Regions from separate parts of the Homo sapiens genome. Here all the other regions are linked to region 3. The links are contacts of gene promoters, found by promoter capture Hi-C in blood cells and fetal thymus (Javierre and others, 2016). All regions are on one chromosome and are shown on one strand. The core of a region is centred on a gene start or on the middle of the fragment in contact, and the rest is flanking DNA. Distances in the headings are between cores, read along the strand shown.

Region 1 (2,700 bases), core at 70-2,569, 1.1 Mb after region 3:
AAATGTCATTCTTCTATAAAATAACAAATATACTGTGATGGGGGAGGGGGTTGTTCTTACTAGAAAAATTAAGAAGTCGTTACTTATTTTGAGTCCCTAACTTGGTTTCGAAATATAACACGGGACTAAGAAATTCAGGAATCAAACAACTACTGCCCTAAAGGAGAGTTGAGATTTACAGGGTTAGGATGGTCAGGGGTGGAAAGTGGTAAGAACAAGCCAGTAGAAAGAGGAAGGTGCAGGGCATTTTTAGGAGTGTGCAGACCAGACTTGCTAAAAACAAAGTGCGCTTGAAAAGGAACAGTTAGAATTAAGTTTTGGTCCATTTTAAAATATTTAATACCTAATAATGTTTGGTTCATAGCAGAAACTCAATAAATATTTGTCAATTGAGTGTAGTGAAAGCTTGAGTGAGATTCAGAAGAGCCAGAAAATAAAGTTTAAATTTCATTTTATAGACCAGAGGTTCCCAAGAGATGTACCAAGAATGGGCAGCCAACGTGCTAAGCTATCGATCACCTTTCAAAGGAGTCAGGCAGAAGCCAGGGCATCTGGTCAACTCTAGGCCAGGTATGTTCTAGTATGCTGTACAAGTACAACTGTCTATAGATGTCATTGGTGGAAGACAATAGGAAGCAATGGGGAACCACTAAAGATAATTGAGCAGTGGAGATATAAGATGGCAGCAATATTTCCAGGAAGACTATTGCTGTGGTTTTAATGTTCATGTCCCCTACAAAATTCATATATTGAAATCCTAACCCTCAATGTGATGGTATTAGGAGGTAGAGCCTTTGGGGAGTAATTTGATCATAGGGCAGAGCCCTCATGAATGGGATTAGTGCCCTCATAAAACAGGCCCCAGAGAGGTAATTTGTCCCTTCTACCAAACAGTACACAGTGAGAAGGCACCATCTGTGAGAAAGTAGCCCTTCACCAAACACCACATCTGCTGGCACCTTGATCTTAGACTTGCCTCCAGAAGTCTGAGAAATAAATTTCTGTTGTTTATAAACTACCCAGCTTACAGTATTTTGTTATAGCAGCCCAAACAGACTAAGACATCTATTAACCTCGTGATAAAGCAAGAGCTGGATCCCAGGCTCAAAGCTGGAATCACTGGGACTCCCAAGGTATATATTATAGACATTTGAAAATTACTTCCCCAAATTTACTCTCCCTAACCCCACTTTTTAATAATACCGTAAAACGTTCCACAAAATGGCCTAGGTGAAATTGATTATACTCTCACCCCCATGGGTGAGCGCTGATTGGCTTAAAACAACTAGCACCTTTTTCCCCAGGACCCACAGACATTGGTTCAGAAATGGGCGCATAATCCAGTCAGGGATTTTTTTTTTTATGAGAACTCCTAAGAAAAAGATTCCTGTACTTCTCTCTGAAGTTGAGCCAGAAAGCATGTACCCCTAAGGGCTGTTGGCAGCCATCTTTGGACAAAAACCAGAGAGCCTGAATGAGAACAGAGGAGGTGCAGAGGAGAAATAGTGAAAGCAAAACTAGATCCAGGTGTCAGCATTTAAAATCCTTGATGTCTTAGCCCCGGACTCTCCAGTTACTACTTAAATTCCTGTTTCTGCTTCAGCTAGCTTGGGTCTTGTTTTCTTTTACTTGTAACTGAGGTTAAAGTGATCCTCAGAATAAGAGGGGAAAAAGTGGACCCTTGTGGTAATCTAGCACTCTGGGTAGACAGTAGCTGTTCAAGGAAAAGAGAAGAGGGGTGCAGGTGGCTACACAGAAGCGATTAGCCATCAAGGGACGAGGGTGGCATTGGGATGAAAAAGGAAGGGCTGGCTCTGAGCTTCACCATGAAAGAAGTGCACATGAGAATGGTTTCTGTCGGGCCCTCACTTTGGTTAATTCTACTGCTTTCTCCTCAGGGATGATGAAGGCCCCCAGCTCATCCCCAGGGAAATGATGCAACCAGGTAGCTGGATCAGAAATGAAAAAGTCAGGAAAAGGGAAAGGTTGCTTGCGCAGTTACTAGGGATACGAAAAGGAGGCTAAAAAACGGCAGGGGGTGGCCTGGAGGGAATGTGAAACATTTTTGTGTGTTTTACACACACCGAAAAAAAAAGAGGACATGGACAGAAACCTAGAGAATAGGAGGACAGCATAGTATAGTTACTAAGAATAAGCTAAGAGTTGGTTCCCCGGGACCAAACAGATACCATTTCCAAAACCCACGAATTACTTACCGGCTGTCTCAATTCACCTAAGCTTCCCTTTCTTGTCTGTAAATGAGCATGAAAGTGCCACCTGTATAAAATAACTCAGGCTCCCAAAATGTAACATAGGGAAGCTCCTAGCAGCGTGTCTGGGAGGAATAAGCATTATCTGTATTTATCGTATCAAATTAAGATAGAGGAACACAGGAGGACAGTAGAGGATGAAAATAAAACACTACTTAGATCCTGACCCTCCTCAGTGGCAAGTAGTGAGCATTCACTTCGTACAGAAGTAGCACTAAGGCAAATTAAAAGAAAGGTTCACATTTCCTCTAAAAGAAATGGTTTTTGAGTCATGCCAATACCACTTACTCAATGTCCTCTGTACTATACTATTCTCTGACAGAGCCACTTATTAAATGTGTGAACTGTGCTGACAACACTTGACAACTTTCAACATGAGGGAACAGCAGGATCACTTAACAGAACAAAATCGTAAAATAATGTCAAAGCT
Region 2 (2,700 bases), core at 141-2,640, 1.1 Mb after region 3:
ATCAGATCACTCCTGCCCTCTACACTTATGGAAGCAGTTGCTTCCATATCATATTACACTACTGAATATCGTAGAAAATATTTCGTTCTTAAAGCCTAGCTGAGCCATGAAAAGCAGTGACTGATATTAAATAGAACTTTTTGCAAGATCTATTGAGTTAACCAGGGGTATGGTATTACCTCTACAATCCCAGCTATATGTACCACATCCTAATCTGAGTTAAAATGAACCTTGATATTTAGTTTACTTTTTGGCTTTGACTACTTTTTACTTGTTTTAAAAATCAGGATAAAACAAAATTGAACAAAAAATAAAGAGGTAAAGTGCATTCAATAAAGAGATTTTAATTAACACTGGGCATAAAAATACATTTTACTGAATCTTAAGGGTTTTTTAACATTTGCTGTTTATAGTATCTTGTCTGATTTGAGAGGCTATCAAATCACAGATCAGTCATACATTGATTCAGGATCAGTCTCTTTCTTTTTTCAGTATATTACATTACTGAGGGATAAACTGGATTTAGAGTTAATTTTAAAAGTTAAATTGGTATTACCTGAAAAATGAATCCATTTAAAATATTTCTGCATTGGGTGGGAGTCTGTCCTAAACACACTCCACAGCTCATCATTCCATGTAGGTGCGTCACCCTATCCCAGAACACAAAGGAAACTTATTCTTGGAGTGTTACTGCCATCTAGTGGAAATTTTACTAAATGTGAATAAATTCTTAAGGCTAATTAGGCCCCCTACTCTCTTCACCGCCACTCTCACCATGTCTTTTTTTCTTTTTCCTTCCTTTCTTTCTTTCTTTCTTACTATCACAGGTGCACTCAGGTACACCAAGAAGAGAAAATGCTTGCTCAGTCATTGGGAACTTTTTTGAAAATTGGTGCTTTGTGCCCAGCAAGACAATATTTCTATTTGGCCAAAGCTACTTTGTCAGAAGATATATGAATATGTCCTAATTTTTGCAAAAAAAGAAATGCAGAAAGGATTAACCAGAAACTAATGGGATTGATTACCTAAAGCAAAAGGATGAAAATGAATGAGAAAGATGGAAAAAGATAGAACTCTTCTGATTATATTTTTATATAGTTTTTACTCTTGAACCACATAAATGTTTACTTTTTTTTTTTTTTTTGAGACGGAGTCTCACTCTGTTGCCCAGGCTGGAGTGCAGGAGCGCGATCTCGGGTCACTGCAACCTCTGCCCTCTGAGTTCAAGTGGTTCACCTACCTCAGCATCCCGAGTAGCTGGGATTACAGGCGTCTGCCACCGTGCCCAGCTAATTTTTTGTGTTTTTAGTAGAGACGGGGTTTCACCATCTTGGCCAGGCTGGTCTTGAACTCTGACCTCGTGATTCACCTGCCTTGGCCTCCCAAAGTGCCGGGATTACAGGCATGAGCCACCACGCCCGGCCTACATTTTCAAATATAAAATTTAGTCACCAGGCTGGGAGGACTGTTAAGTTGAACAGAAACAGAAACAAATCAACCTAAGCATGTATCATATAAAAAATGTAATTATTCAGAACAAGAAAAATAATTATTCCAAGTAACTTGTGAATGTGAAATTCTAACTGGCCACCCTCAGGGAATATTCTAAGGATAATAATTAAGAAAGCCTTGAACTTTACCTGGTAAGGTAAGTTTGTCTTTGGTAGTGGTATTGATGTAGTAATTCTGAAACTACTTTGCGTGTGTTTTAGAATTTCAAATAGATAAACATATTGATCTTGCTGGTGTTGCAGGACTTTTCCTTAGTTCAGCTAAAGACAGGGTCCTTTTCCGTCCCATGGTCACCAACATTTAGGCTCATAGATGGTTTGAAGCGTGAGTAAAGCAGGGTTGTATTGGGTAAAAGGGAAAAAAGGGGAAACAGGGATCCTCCTAAGGCCAGAGTCCCTGCTAGAGAACTTCCCACCCACAAGTTCCACACAGGAAGAGGAGGAGCCTTGAATCCCAGGTTCCACACAGGAAGAGGAACCCTTCTGCAAATGTTGTGAACTTCTGTGTCTCCACCCCAGTGTGCACTCTTCCCAGTGCACAAGCCAGTTGGAGTTTTTCCAGGGATCCTCTTCCCACTTGGCTGTCTCACTGGGAACCAGTTTTCCCATTATGGGAGGGTTGTTTTTTGTTTTTTAAAAGAGATATGGAGTAAAGGAAGAAGACGCAAACTCTTTGGTGTTGGGTTACGAAGTTAGAGGTATCAGTACAAATTCGAGGTCTTTAAAACTATGTATTAGCCAGGCACGGTGGCTCACGCCTGTAATCCCAGCACTTGGGGAGGTCAAGGTGGGCAGATCACCTGAGGTCAGGAGTTCAAGACCAGCCTGGGCAACATGGTAAAACCCTGCCTCTACTACAATTACAAGAATTAGTCGGGTGTGGTGCTGCATGCCTGTAATCCCAGCTACTCAGGAGGCTGAGGCATGAGAATCGCTTGAACTGGGGAGGCGGAGGTTGCAGTGAACAGAGATCACACCACTGCACTCCATCCTGGGTGACAGAGAGAAAGAGACACTGTCTCCAAAAAAAAAAAAAAAAAAAAAGTATATACTTCCTATTTTGTCCATTGAAAGAGCCTAGAAGCAATAACCCTCCTGCAGAAGGAGTATACCTGCACCCTGGCTTCCATGTCTAAACACCATAGTCAAAAGACAAAAGCAGGATCCCACGGAGAAATGGTTGATTCCA
Region 3 (2,700 bases), core at 41-2,540:
AGAGTTACATTCACATAAAGCTTTTTTTTAAAAAAAAAAGTCTTCTGTAAAAACAAGTATACACAACTAGGAAGCTGTGCTTTGCCTGCTAAGAGTCCGATTTCAAAATACAAACCGGCTTCAACTACATATAGACACATACAGGAATTTGGGAAATCTTATCTCATTAATTCAGGTGCTAATTATCCAACTGTAAAATTAATAGGCAGAAATTACTAGCCTCTCTTCTTCCGTCATCTAGTCATCAATGGGCAAGGCCTTCGAAGAAGGGAATAGAGAGTGAATAAACTTGGACTTCAAATTAAGTCGTTTCGCAGAGATCTTAAGAGTGGAAAATACTGGGGGGGAAACTATTGTTTTCGATTACTTTTAACACTGTTATCATCCCTGCCTGCTACCACCTACTAGCATGCATAATCAGGAATTTGATGCAAATAAAAATAAAACAGAACACTAATAGGACTACTTTGCGAATATGAAAACGGGTTCGAAAATAAGCTTATGCTTTACACCCTTAAAATAGAGCTAGCTTTAAAAAAAAACCCACTAATTACAATTCTTTGCAAAATAACTGGATAAAAGGACAAGGGGAAATCGTAGTATCGTTTCTTAAAAGAAACACCTCCGTAAAACCACTGCAAAAACAATGCTTCGCTCCATTGAACACAGACCTAAAAGGCCCGTGACTTCCCTTCATCTGTAGTTACCACACATTCTCTTACAGTCTTTCTGGGTGAGAAGCCTTCAAACGCCTTTCCACCTTGAAAACACATTCCAGAGCTGAAGGGAATGGGGGAAGCGGGGAGACTACTAGAAGTTATAAGCCCTCCTCCCAGGAGAGCAGGGACAACTTGGAGCCTTCTGACCCCTTCACCAAGCAGGGGAGAAGCGGCAACGGCGAGCCCTCCGCCTGGGAAGTAATCAGGGTTGGAAAAGCCCCCAAGTCCCAGGCAGCAGCTGGAACAATGAAGGAGAGCTGGGAGCTGCCAGGCTCCCAGGTGAGGGGGTCTGCGGCCGCAGGACCGGCCCCCGGTCCCCACGTTCGGAGAACTGGGCCTGGCCTGTGAGGAAGCGGCGACCCCAACCCCCGGCTCGGCGGGCCCAGCCCAAACCCGCGTACCTGCTCCGTGGGGGCTCGGTCCATGGTGCCTGCAGCCGCAACGGGCCCGCGCTAGTCGGTGTAAACAGCGCCTCGGGCCGCTTTCTCCATGGCCCCCCGCTCGGGTCCAGACTGGGTTCCGGACCTCCGCCCCTATCTGGCTGGCCGCGACACCGATTCGGCTACGCCACTGGCCGAGGAGGCGGCTCCAGCTCCGGGAGATGGAGGAGGCGGTGGCAGCTTCGGGGAGGGATCATCTGGGACGGAAGCCGAGGAGGGCCCGAATGGGCTGGAGGCGTAGTTAGAAATGGAGGCGCACGGAAGGAAAAGGAGTGGGGAGGAGGCAGAGAGGGGCAGTGGGCGGAGTGACAGCAAATGGCCTCAGCAAGGGTAGGAGGAACCCGGCCTGGCCTGGAGGCTAAGGCCAGGTGGAGGCGCCCAGGAGCAGGTGCCCCGAACCACACGCCACCCCTGCGACTGTTAAACGAGAAGTGTCAGACCACTTGGGACCCAGGTCTCCCGGGACTTCAAAGACCTCTTCAGGATCTGAAACCACCTCTTAGTGATGTTGGAAAAGCTTTCATCTGCCCACCGTACATCTGCTCCTTCCTTATGTTACGCAAATAAAGGGAGTCATGACTATAAAGGAATGAGAATATTCTGAAAATAATGGAGTCTTGCCCTAGAAAAATGCATATGTAAAACGCATACACAGAATGACTGGAAGAGGCCCGCTAGGAAGCTCCCCACAAATATTTATTGAGAGTTAATTCATTATCCAGGTTCATGCCCACTTCTAGGCTCACATCCAGGCTGACCTCGCCCATCTCAGAAATCCTAATTTTATGCAGGATCTGTATAACACCACCCAACGGGTAATTATTTTATCTTCAGATCCTTAGCTCCTTAAGGGCAGAGACTGTCTTGAAACTGGGCACTACCGTTAGCATGGCAAATTTCTTCTGGGCATCTCCTCAGACACACCCTCCAACACCCACACCCTCTGTGAAGATTCAACCAACTGCGGATAGAAATATTTTGAGGAAAAAAGAAATATCAAGTACAACAATAAAATACAAGTAATACAGTTTAACAACTGCTTATACAGCATTTACATTGTATTAGGTATTATAAGTAATCTAGAGATGATTTAAAGTATATCGGAGGATATGCATGGATTGTATGCAAATACTACACCATTTTATATAAGGATCTTTAGCACTCATGGATTTTGGTATCAGCAGGGATCCTGGAGCCAATATCCCCCCTGGGATACTTAGGGACAACTGTATAAGCTAAATTACACTTAAGTGAAGGTAGAGTTGAGGTGGCTGCTGTTTGGGGCACTGGTGTGGAGATCCACAGCTAGGAATGGGAAAGAGATTTTAAGAAATTTGCTTTGTCATGCTTCAGGAGATATCAGTAAAGACTAATTGCCTTTTCAGTTAGTCTAGGTTATTAGTCTGGTTATTAGACTCCAATATGAGGCTTGTTATGTGAAGGCCCCTTGCTGTACTTATGTTGATACAGGTTGGGTATCTCTAATGGAAACTATGAAATTCCAAACCCTCTTGAATCCCAAATGTTCCAAAATTAGAAAC
Region 4 (2,700 bases), core at 1-2,500, 1.3 Mb after region 3:
GTAGTTTTTGACCCTTAGAAGAACTCAGTTGTAATAAGACAACTACATTGACCAAGGGGAGCATAGCTCCAGGTCAAGTCACTAATTTACTCAGTTCAATATCTATATATTAAAATTCTGGACGGGTGCAGTGACTCAAGCCTGTAATCCTAGCACTTTGGGAGGCCGAGAAGGGAAGATCACTTGAGGCCAGGAGTTTGAGACCAGCCTAGCCAACATGGTGAAACCCCGCCCATCTCTGCTAAAAAATACAAAAATTAGCTGGGTGTGGTCCCAGCTACTCAGGTGGCTGAAGCAGGAGAATCCCTGAACCCAGGAGGCAGAGGCTGTAGTGAGCCAAGATTGCTCCACTGCACTCCAGCCTGGGCAACAGAGCAAGACTGTCTCAAAAACAAACAAAAATCCTCAGACATAAAGTGCTAGATTTTTAAAAAATCATTTAGTTTAACAACAAAAATATATTGCTTTTCTGCTGTGGCAAATAAGTTCTTTACTCCAATTAAAATGTATGTTAATAATAAATCTATTATACAAACTAGCTACTTTTGCTCAAAGTACATGCCAAGATGGCCATCTAGTGGTAACAGGAATTACTACCAATAATTACATGTTAAAGCTTAGTCTATTTTGTTTTGAATTTCCGTAATTTACAGCTTATAGAGTTGTTGTGAGGATTATGGCATGTACTAGACAGGAAAACTCTATAAAAGCATAAAGTACTAGTTCCACGTGAATGGTTACTAGCACTCTTAAATAAGAATATGAATTTTTAAAATGTTTACACCTATTATATTTAATAAGCCTTTACTCACATTAAAAATTTAAAATAAACTTGCTATATAATTCTTATGCTCAATGAGTACAATTATAAATCCAATATAAATCTCCTAAAGATTTTCTCCACTCCAATTTTGTATTACACACACATCCCTACACACACCCAGTCTTTAAAATGTTCATACTCTTTGACCTAGTAATTCTACTCAAATAAACCCATCATAAGGAAACTATTCAAAAATCTAAATATATCAATACTAATGTTATTTAAAATAAGGAAAAAAACAACCACAAACAATGATTAAAGAAATTAAGATATGTCATAATGGAATACTGTAGTGATTTATTTCTTTTACATTATGAACAATTTGTAGTATATATAAACTAGACAGTCATATAATAAACTCCCACATAGCCATTTAGTTTAATATTATCAATTAATGGCTGACTCATTTCCCAACTCCACCCATTGTTTTCAATCAAGTGTTAGACATTATATAATATTATCTCTAATATTTCAGTACAGATCTCTAAAAGATAAAAATATTTTTAAAATAATACTATATATATTCATTTGAAAATATTTACAAACAGTATGTAACAGTTTAAGAATCAGGACTCTAAGTTGTATATATACCATGATCTTAATAGAAAAACACTTGGAGCCGAGTGTAGTGGCTCATGCCTGTAATCCCAGCACTTTGGGAGGCCGAGGCAGGTGGATCACCTGAGGTCAGGAGTTCAAGACCAGCCTCGCCAACACAGTGAAATCCCACCTTTACTAAAAATAAAAAAATTAAAAGAATTAGCTGGGTGTGGTGGCTGACGCCTGTAATCCCAGCTACTCCGGAGGCTGAGGCAGAGAATCGCTTGAACCCGGGAGGCAGAGGTTGCAGTGAGCCGAGATTCTGCCATTGCACTCCAGCCTGGGCAACAAGAGCAAAACTCCGTCTCAAAAAAAAAAAAGAAAGAAAAAAAAAAACCACTTGGAAACAATACACCATTGTAATGAAAACTATGAATTTTCCCTTTTTTCTACTTTTTTCTAAGTTTTAATTTTTTTATAGCAAGCATATATTACTAATATAATATTAAAACTTTTATTTAAAAGCTTTTTTTCAAAATTAGGTTACAGATAAGCTTAATAAAGCCTTTAATGCACCACATTAGATATTGAGGCTGGGCGCGGTGGCTCACGCCTGTAATCCCAGCACTTTGGGAGGCCGAGGCGGGTGGATCACGAGGTCAGGAGATTGACACCATCCTGGCTAACATGGTGAAACCCCGTCTCTACTGAAAATACAAAAAATTAGCTGAGCGTGGTGATGGGTGCCTGCAGTCCCAGCTACTCGGGAGGCTGAGGCAGGAGAATGGCGCGAACCCGGGAGGCGGAGCTTGCAGTGAGCCGAGATCGCGCCACCGCACTCCAGCCTGGGCGACAGAGCAAGACTCCGTATCAAAAAAAAAAAAAAAATTAGTTATTGAAAGCATTTTTCATAGTAAAAGTATGTAAAATATGACTCCAAGTAAAATTTAGCATACTATAATCATGTGTACGTGTATGAAAATATTCCAAATTTAGTTGCCTACAGTCTCATAAGAAAACAATTTCAATAATAATAAAAACAGTCCCTAGCATCTTGCTCTTTATCTACATTGTCTCATTTTATCTAAAGGGCCTTAACAAGATCATTATTGTCTCCACTTTGCAGAGGAAGCAAGTAAAAAGTAAAAAGATTTACCAAAGAACACTAGTTTTGATCTTAAAATCAGACCCTTATTCTCAATTCTTCCTGTGTTCTAAGTTGAAGAACACTAGGAATCTGCTGGGATATAAAGGGCATGTCCTCCAAGGATTTAAGTTTAGTGTCTCCCAGTGTAATTCCTTTGAAACGAAAAATCATCACATGAACTCTGGTATAT

What was found. Contacts are between HindIII fragments. The CHiCAGO score rates a contact against its expected background, and 5 or more counts as called.
Region 1: a fragment that was not itself captured here is called in contact with the fragment with the promoter of SECISBP2L in region 3 in 1 of 17 cell types (erythroblasts); the score reaches 5.4 in erythroblasts.
Region 2: a contact is called between a fragment that was not itself captured here and the fragment with the promoter of SECISBP2L in region 3, in 1 of 17 cell types (M2 macrophages). The highest score is 6.0, in M2 macrophages.
Region 4: a fragment that was not itself captured here is called in contact with the fragment with the promoter of SECISBP2L in region 3 in 5 of 17 cell types (total B cells, activated CD4 T cells, naive CD4 T cells and 2 more); the score reaches 10.1 in total B cells.

Annotation. Positions count from the first base shown.
Region 1 is chr15:50,178,834-50,181,533 of GRCh38, forward strand. It overlaps a transcript of ATP8B4 not described here. Among named protein-coding and RNA genes, the nearest start is that of SLC27A2, 2.0 kb to the right of the region's middle. The HindIII fragment of the contact is 1,833 bases long and covers 404-2,236 here.
Region 2 is chr15:50,144,887-50,147,586 of GRCh38, forward strand. It overlaps a transcript of ATP8B4 not described here. Among named protein-coding and RNA genes, the nearest start is that of ATP8B4, 27 kb to the left of the region's middle. The HindIII fragment of the contact is 5,521 bases long and covers 1-2,700 here.
Region 3 is chr15:49,045,156-49,047,855 of GRCh38, forward strand. It overlaps SECISBP2L (SECIS binding protein 2 like), which reads right to left and starts at 1,291. Exons shown (of 18, transcript NM_001193489.2): 1 at 1,121-1,291. The coding sequence starts at 1,144. RefSeq lists enhancers at 748-887, 1,178-1,527, 1,628-1,757. The HindIII fragment of the contact is 1,178 bases long and covers 497-1,674 here.
Region 4 is chr15:50,315,674-50,318,373 of GRCh38, forward strand. All of the region lies in intron 1 of GABPB1 (GA binding protein transcription factor subunit beta 1), which reads right to left. Among named protein-coding and RNA genes, the nearest start is that of GABPB1-AS1, 37 kb to the right of the region's middle. The HindIII fragment of the contact is 1,272 bases long and covers 615-1,886 here.